Linked DNA regions of Homo sapiens: region 2 is linked to region 1. Evidence: promoter capture Hi-C in 16 types of primary human blood cells and fetal thymus (Javierre and others, 2016). All regions are on one chromosome and are shown on one strand. Each heading gives the region's core, a stretch centred on a gene start or on the middle of the fragment in contact. The rest is flanking DNA. Distances are from core to core; before and after follow the strand shown. Region 1 holds the start of RBPMS (RNA binding protein, mRNA processing factor). Region 2 has its middle 110 kb from the start of DCTN6-DT.

The links. Contacts are between HindIII fragments. The CHiCAGO score rates a contact against its expected background, and 5 or more counts as called.
Region 2: a fragment that was not itself captured here is called in contact with the fragment with the promoter of RBPMS in region 1 in 2 of 17 cell types (M1 macrophages and M2 macrophages); the score reaches 5.3 in M1 macrophages.

The regions. Positions count from the first base shown.
Region 1 is chr8:30,382,477-30,386,637 of GRCh38, reverse strand. It overlaps RBPMS (RNA binding protein, mRNA processing factor), which reads right to left and starts at 2,097. Exons shown (of 9, transcript NM_001008710.3): 1 at 1,480-2,097. The coding sequence starts at 1,545. It overlaps RBPMS-AS1 (RBPMS antisense RNA 1), which reads left to right and starts at 1,237. Exons shown (of 3, transcript NR_046205.1): 1 at 1,237-1,494; 2 at 2,941-3,094; 3 at 4,023-4,161. RefSeq lists enhancers at 968-1,639, 1,640-2,310. The HindIII fragment of the contact is 8,815 bases long and covers 1-3,246 here.
Region 2 is chr8:30,265,278-30,269,438 of GRCh38, reverse strand. No RefSeq gene overlaps it. Among named protein-coding and RNA genes, the nearest start is that of DCTN6-DT, 110 kb to the right of the region's middle. RefSeq lists an enhancer at 3,761-4,161. The HindIII fragment of the contact is 6,409 bases long and covers 1-4,161 here.

The DNA.
Region 1 (4,161 bases), core at 848-3,347:
CCAGTAAAGTTCAAGAAAAAAAATCAGAACACACCATTCAACTCTCCATCGCTTTGAAAAAAGAAATGCCAGTAGCATTCCTACAATTGTAATTAGAAAACATGCAAGTAAACAACTCTTCAAATAGTCTTTTATAATAAAATAGAAAATGTCCTCGGGTGAAAAAGCAATTTTTGGCTGACTGCAATTCATTTAGGTTTTCACTACCATACAACTGGGTGACGAGTAAAATCTCCTATTTATTTTGCATTGTTTGGCATAGTCTCGCTCCTCTACCTTCTCCATCTAAATAGTTACCATTTTCCAAGTGGACAATGTGCAGAGAAGTTGTATGTATTAATGAATTCCTCTGCAATTTTGGTTTCACTATCAGAATTGAAGTTTGCACACAACATAGTGTCTCAACAATGATCTCAACATTCTAACGCTTTAGAATCCGTTTACCTTCTGTGTTCACCTATATCAGGATCCAATACCTGTGTGAATCTTTTCGGGTCATATTTAGACGTGCACTTTCCTGCATCTACACACACTCTCAAGTTCCTCTAGAATGTTTAAGAACTCAACTGTGTGGGATGTTAAGAAGTACGCCAGAAATAATTTCTTGGACTCCAGATAACGTACCTGCAAAAAGAGTCATTTGGTAGGATACCACAAATATCCTACTGAATTCTGAAACGTTTGTTCCTGAGTCCGACTCCCCTTCTGACCACATCTACTCAATTTTGTTTCCACCGAAGGAACGCTCCGCAGTCACAAAACTTTCATCATGATTACGGACGCACCACCTAAAATGCATGCTCAGAAGTCAAAGTCCTATGAAAATACCCTCGATGAGCATTTGGTGAATTGCTGCGTTTTTAACCCTCTTACTCTGCTCCCCTCAGCTGCACGGCCCCTAAAATCACAAGCGTTCACCGCCCAGGCTCGGGGTCTTTGACTCAGCAGAGAAGAATGTGGCTGATGAGTTATCTATTAATCCAAAAAACCTCGGCTAGAAAGATATTTCACCAAGAACTTTTAACACGGAAAGGGAGGGGGCAGGGAATAGAGGTATCTTTTAACGAGAACTTTCCCCCGAGTTTCTTCCTTAAACTGCTCCCCCCCCGACCCTGAATCCATACACAATTTCCAGCCCCGGCCCTAAGTCCTGACCCTCCGAGTCCCGATTATCTGAGGTCACCCAGGAGTCAGCTCTCGGTTCCACTTATAAATCCCGGGCAAACAAAGCTGAGCATTATACTTACAAAAGTCTCCGAAAAGTCCTTGGAGTTACGCAATTTGGGGCCCGCAGACGCGCGTGGACACAAAAACACACGCTCCCGAGATCCACCCTCCCCGGGCCACACTGTGGGGCTGCGTCCGGGGCACGGGCCATGCCTGAACCTTCTTCCACCGCCGCGCCCCGGGCCCGCGCCCCGCCGGCCGCCCGCACTGGGTCCCGCGTCGCCCCCGCCACCACACCGAGCCGCCCAGTACCTCCTCCTCCTGAAGGTTGGCCTCGCTCGGGGTGTTCTCCTTCTCGGCTTTGCCGCCGTTGTTCATCTTCCCGGTCCTTCCTCGCCGGGCCGGGCAGGGCTGGGGCGCGGGGCTGGGCGAGGGCGCGCTAGCCCACTGGAGCCTTCCCCGGGCGCCGGGGCTCCCTCGGGCGGGCGCCGCGGGCTGTGGGGCTGGAGCTGGAGCCGGGGCAGTGGCTGTCGGGCTCGGGTTGGGCTGGGGCTCCCGCGGCGAGTCTGCGACGGCGGCGGCGGGCGACTCAGGAAGTGCAAGGGAGAGACGGGGCAGGGCGCGGGCCGGGAGCGGGGCACCGAGACAATCGGGCCCCGGGAGGGCGACCTGGAGAGGGAGGGCGGGAGCCAGGGGAGGAAGGAAGAAGGAAGGAAGGAAGGAAGCAAAGGATGGGGCGAGGACGCGCGTCCCAGGAGTAAGCGCGGAGAGTTGGGGCTGGGGGCTGCAGCCGCTGGAAGGAGGGGACGGGGGTGCCTAGAGAGGAGGAGGAGGAGGAAGAGGAGGAGGAGGAGCGGGGCGGAGGAGCGCGGGCCGCGGCTGGGACGCTGGGACCCGAGAGCCGCTGAGTACGCGCTCCAGGCAGGCTCTGGGAAGTCCGGGATGGAAGCAGCTCCCTTTCTCTCGCCTTCCTCCCTCCCCTCTCCCCTCCCTCCTCTCCGCGCCTCTCCTCCTCCCTCCGCCCTCCCTGGACGTGGGCTGCCGGCTGCAGCCCGGAGGGACGGGGCGCGGGACGGAGCCCCCCGCGGGAGGAGGGGCCGGCGGCCGGATGGCGCGCGCCGGGGAGGGGCAGCGGGCCGCGGGCGGAAGCGGCGACCCCAGCCCCCGACTCAGCGGCTGGTCGGAGGGCGAGGGCCCGGGAGGCCGAGGGCAGGGAGGTCGGGTCCCGCCGTTCCCTTGGCCCCCGGGGGCCCCGGCGTCTGCGCGCCCCGGGACTTCGGGGACCCTGCCCCGCCGGGGCCTGGACCGGGACCTGGGATGTGTGCGACTTTTAGTTTGCCGGCTTTTACCGAGGGATTTGCACCCCTGGCCCTAAGCCCACCCTTCCCGAGCCAGACCCGGTTCTTCCTCTGCTGCTTGAATGACAGCATGAGAACTCGAGGGACACCGGGGACAGCCCACTCCGGGCCGGCTTTTTCAGGACAGGGCTTCAAACCCATCTCCAGCGCGGGTCCTGCGACGCGCCCGGAGCCTTCCCCGCTTCGCTTCCTGAGCGTCCCGCGGCCCCCCGACTCCTCTCCCAACTCTCACCAGACTGTTCTGGGATTGTTTACCTGGCCTCTCCCTCACCCTTCAGAAAGCTCCTTCCTGGAAGAAAAAAAAAAATCCTGCCCTATTTATCTTTTTAATCCCACGGCTATTTAAACGGGCTAAGGGGTATATAGCAGGCACTCAATAAATATTTGTTGGCAAAGTGAATATTCCTTATTGCAGGCAGAGCTGGGGGTCCGTACGGAGGAACTTCAGAGGCTGGAAGCACGCTTGAAAAAGAAAGGGGGCCTGGGCTTTGCACCAGCTTCAGGATTGCGTACTTGTTTCCTCATCCGTGAAATGGGAGCAGCTGAATGTGTCTCCTCGAGTTTTCGAGGTGATTATAGGTTGATAGAGCTATATACAGCACCCAGCATTTATTCTTGCTTCGTTTAGGTTTACAATACATGGAAGCTAACATTATTATTAAGAAAACTTCTATTTTTCCAGGGCCTTAGAAAGCGTTTCCAATACTCGATCATTTAAGCTTATGGTTTTTTGGTTTTTTTTTTTTTTAGAAAAATGAGGGTCTCACTTTGTTGCTCAGGCTGAGCTCGAGCTCCTGGCCTCAAGTGATCCTCCTGCTTTTGGCCTCCCAAACTGATGGGATTACAACGTGGAGCCACCGTGTTAAACTCTTAGATTTGACTGCTACAAAGGTATAAATGTGGAACTCCATATATCAGTGGGTTCTGCCCCACTTCTTCCTCCCAGGAATTCTCCATCCCAGCCTGCTGCTCCTGTCTTGCACCGGTAACAGTTTCCAACTACAGTATTTGCTTAACTGTTTCTCCCCACCCCCACCAGACATTCTTTATACTTGGTTTAAGTGCTGCTGGGGATAGGGCGGGGGTGGCTGTGGGAGTTGCAGATAAGGACCCTCCCTTTAGGGAGTTTAAAGTGGTATGGTGGCTCACACTTGGAATCTCAGCACTTAAGGAGATAGAGGAAAGAGGATTGCTTGAGCCCAGGAGTTCAAGACCTGCCTGGGCAACATAGTGAGACTCTGTTCTCCACAGAGGGGAAAAAAAGAAAAGACAAAAAAATAAAGTGGTATGGAGCCAAGATACTCTCAGAATCCTCTTTCCGATTATAGAAAGCAAGGAAAATATTTGCTTTAAGGGCATTATGAGGAGAAAAACAGTAGTGATACTTGGATTTACATATTGGATTTATCTTGGGGGTTTGGAGATTTTGAAACAGGAAGATTTCCATAAGGAAAACATGTTTTTTTAATTGCTGTCATAATGTGATTTCTCTCTAAGGGGAACAAACATGTATCCTGGATGAAAATAAACCAACTCTTGAAACTGCAACCCAAGACATTCAGAAGAGATAAGGCTACAGTGAATGTGGAAACTTTGCACGTGTTTGGATGTATTGATTGCCTTAACTGGCAGCTCT
Region 2 (4,161 bases), core at 575-3,074, 120 kb after region 1:
GGTGCATGCCTGTAATCCCAGCTACTCGGGAGGCTGAGGCAGAAGAATCGCTTGAACCTAGGAGGCGGAGGCTGCAGTGAGCTGAGATTGTGCCACTGCACTCCAGCCTGGGTGACAGAGCAAGACTCCATCTCAAAAAAAAAAAAAAAAAAAAAAAAAAAAGCACATCCCTAATTATGGCTCCTAACCACAGGAGTTATTGGGGCTAGGAAGTTCCAAGGGACAACTATGAAACAAGATGTGAAGCAGGATTTTTCCCATCAGACTGGAATTGTGGCTGAGGCTGAAAGCTGAGGACAAGAGTTGCTAATACCATGAGAAGTTGCTAATAACTGGGAACTAGAAGCATTCCTCGCAGCTTACCAAGAAGTGGAAGAACGGGCTCTGCTACCATCACCCTCCTCACCGTGGATTCTATTAGAGAATACCTGGGTGGGCCTCCGGGCTCAGAATGAGGGGAGAATCTCTCCCCATCCACCAAGGAAAGAAATGCTTCCCTTCCGTGAACCCCAGTGAAGATAAGGTGCTTCTCAGAGAATAGTTTACAGGAAATGAGGGTGCCCACAAGAGGCTGTTGTTTGGGCATCTCATTTCCCGGTTGGACATTGACTTAAGCCACAGATTTACTTGCTGACAGCCCCTGTGCTGGTGTGAGCAGGGACAAGGGAGTTGGGAAGAGGTGGCTGGACTCCAGGAAGGGGTTAGGCAAGGAGCAGCCACAGTCCCAGCACTGGAAATGGAAGGTAGCACCGCCGCCACCCACACAGAGTCAGTTTTGTGAGGGGTGGCTTTGCGGTGCCAACTCAGCTAGGCTGAACTAGACTCCTGTCATTCCCTTTCTTATATGTTTCTGGTTAGGGTTGGCCACAGGAGGAATTTGCATGAGATTTGGATGATGGAAACTCAGCAGCACCTGTGTTTTTGTCTCAGAAGGCCCAGGTGGGTCAGGTTTTAGCGGATGCAATGGGTCCATTGTTGGTGTGGGAAGCAATCTGGCCTAAAGCCCCAGCTCCCATGGGATCACTTCCTTCAGCTTTTCTGAATCCCGAGCCAGGTGCAAGTATGGCTCTGGGCAAGACAGCAGCTTCTCCTGCAGATAGTCTGCGGGCCCGGAGTTGGAGGCTCTGAGATGGGAAGGGGCTGACATGGACGCCAGTGAGAGACAGACAGAAGTCCAGCTGCCTGCCTCTCTCCCAATTTGTGTTCCCCTTTCTTCCCAGCCCCTGCCCTGTGACTTCCAGCTTGGCGCCAGGCACAGGAGAAACAGCTGGACTGAGACGGCTTTATGGCTCTCTGGAGTTGAATCCCTACAAGAAATATCTTGTTCTATCTACATCACACTTAGCAGTTCTGCTTCTTGGACTCAGTGCTGATTGATACTTCTAGGTTACGTGGAGAAACTTGGTACAGTAATAAGAACACAGTCAGATACATGTTCTAATTTCATCTGTTTGGCTGGGCGTGGTGGCTCATGCCTGTAATCCCAGCACTTTGGGAGGCCGAAGCAGGAGGATCACTTGTGTCCAGGAGTTTGAGACCACCCCGGGCAACATAGTGAGCCATCTCCACAAATTTTTTTTTTTTTTTTTGAGGCAGTCTTGCTCTGTCACACAGGCTGGAGTGAAATGGTGCAATCTTGGCTTACTGCAACCTCCACCTCTTGGGTTCAAGTGATTCTCCTGCCTCAGCCTCCCAAGCAGCTGGGATTACAGGCGTGTGCCACCATGCCCAGCTAACTTTTTTTTTGTATTTTTAGTAGAGATGGGGTTTTGCCTCCAGGCTGATCTCGAATTCCTGACCTCAGGTGATCCACCCGCCTTGGCCTCCCAAAATGCTGGGATTGCAGGTGTGAGCCACCACGCCCAGCTCACAAAACATTTTTTAAAATTAGCTGGGTGTGGTGGCATGTGCCTGTAGTCCCAGCAACTTGGGAGGCTAAAGCAGAAGGATAGCTTGAGCCTGGAAGGTTGAGGCTGCTGTGAGCCAAAATCATATCACTGCACTCAGCCTGCACAACAGAGTGAGATGCTATCTCAGAAGAAAAGAGAGAGAGAGAGAGAAAGAAACAATTTCATCCGTTCATCTTTTCAGCTAATTTGCTGTGTGACCTTGGGCATGTCACTTTGCCCACCAAGTCCCAGTTTCATCACTGGTTTAAATAAAGGAGGGTTGGATTAGGTGGTCTGTAAAGATGTTCCCGGATTTAAACATACAAGCAGACACATGATACTAAAGTTTATATTTAAGAGTTTCTGAACTCTTGAAAAGCAGTTGTGAAAATTATGCCCTAACAAAACTATTGCCTACTGGCTAATTCCAAACTTTATAACAATTTTCCCGCTGCTCAGTTATGGTCAACACTTTTTCAGGTGTGGGCAAAACTCACAATTCCTCATTCTCTGGGAACTGCCACCAGGTGCACTGGGGTAGGGCCCTGGCAGCCATGCTGATATTACAGGATACCCTCTGCTCTTGCCTATTGCTGACTGGACCAGAGGCGAACACCTGCTCCAAGGTGGCCTCAGGTCCTCTCCCCTGGGAAATTGAGAATTGGGACCAGGAAGCTGCTCAGTTTGTCCAGGCTGGTGCCTCAACCTCTGGAAACACTGGAGTGGCCAGAGAAGCAGAGAAAGTGTGTCTGAATTGAGAAAGAGAGAAGAATGAAGCACATGCTTCAGAGAAAAGCAAAGACAAGAGCTAGAGAGAAAAAAAAATCCTACCCATTTCTATCCGCATTACTGCCCCTTGTTTCCTTGAGAGGATCTGATTTTATTCCTTCCTTTCTGTTTATGTGAGCCCAGGTTCACCTGTATTACTTGTCTCTAAAGAACTTTGATAAGCCAATAGGAAGATCTATTTTTCTTGATAAAAACTGGCTAAAATTTGATTTGGGGGGAAACACGGTCTCACTCTGCTCCCCAGGCTGGAACCCAGTGGCACAATCACAGCTCACTGCAGCCTCGACCTCGCAGGATTCAGGCAATTCTTCCACCTCAGCCTTCTGAGTAGCAGAGACCACAGACATGTGCCACCACATCTGGCTAATTTTTTAATTTTTTGTAGAAACGGGGTATCCAGGCTGGCCTCGAACTCCTGGGCTCAAGCGATCCACCCACTTTGGCCTCCCAAAGTACTAGGATTACAGGTGTGAGCCACCTCGCCCTGCCTGATTTTATTTATTTATTTATTTATTTGAGACAGGGTCTCACTCTGTCACCCAGGATGGAGTGCAGTGGCACGATCTCAGCTCACTGCAACCTCCGCCTCCTAGGTTCAAACGATTCTCGTGCCTCAGCCTCCCAAGTAGCTGGGATTACAGGTGCACGCCACCATGCCCAGCTCATTTTTTTTTTTTTTTTTTTTTTTGGTATTTTTAGTAGCAGCAGGGTTTCACCATGTTGGCCCAGCTAGTCTTGAACTCCTGACCTCAAACGATCTGCCCGTCTCAGCCTCCCAAAGTGCTGGGATTACAGGCTTGAGCCACCACACCCAGCCTCTGATTTTTTTACTATTGTGCTTCTTCATCCAAAACAGAAATTCTGGTTTTGAAAAAATAGCCTAGCTCTGTTAAAAAGTGGACATTCTTGGGCTGCTGATAATATTATATTTGATGGCAATAGTGACAATGACTTCCACTGTCAGTCTTGTTCTCTCTTTCTATGGCAAACAAGAATTAACCTTCCAACTGAACACTCTCACACAAAAGTTTACTGAGTTGCCAATGGTCCCATATTGGAGCACTGGGCCTGGCTTATAAAGGTAGGGTTCAAGTCCCACTTCTGCCATTTACTGTGTGTGTGCCCTTGGAAAAGTGTGCAAACTCTCTGACCCTCAAATATGTCATCTATTTGTGTTAGTCCATTTTGCATTGCTATAAAGGGGAATAACTGAGGTTAATGCATGAAGAAAAGAGGTTTATTTGGCTCATGGTTCTGCGGGCTGTATAAGCATGGTGCCAGCATGTGCGTCTGGTGAGGGCCTCAGGTGCTTGTACTCATGGTGAAAGGTGAAGGGGGAGCAAGCACAGGGAGCAAGAGAGGAAGGAAAAGGTGCCAAGCTCTTTTTTTTTCCTTGAGACGGAGTTTCGCTCTTGTTGCCCAGGCTGGAGTGCAATGGTGTGATCTCAGCTCACTGAAACCTCCACCTCCCGGGTTCAAGCAA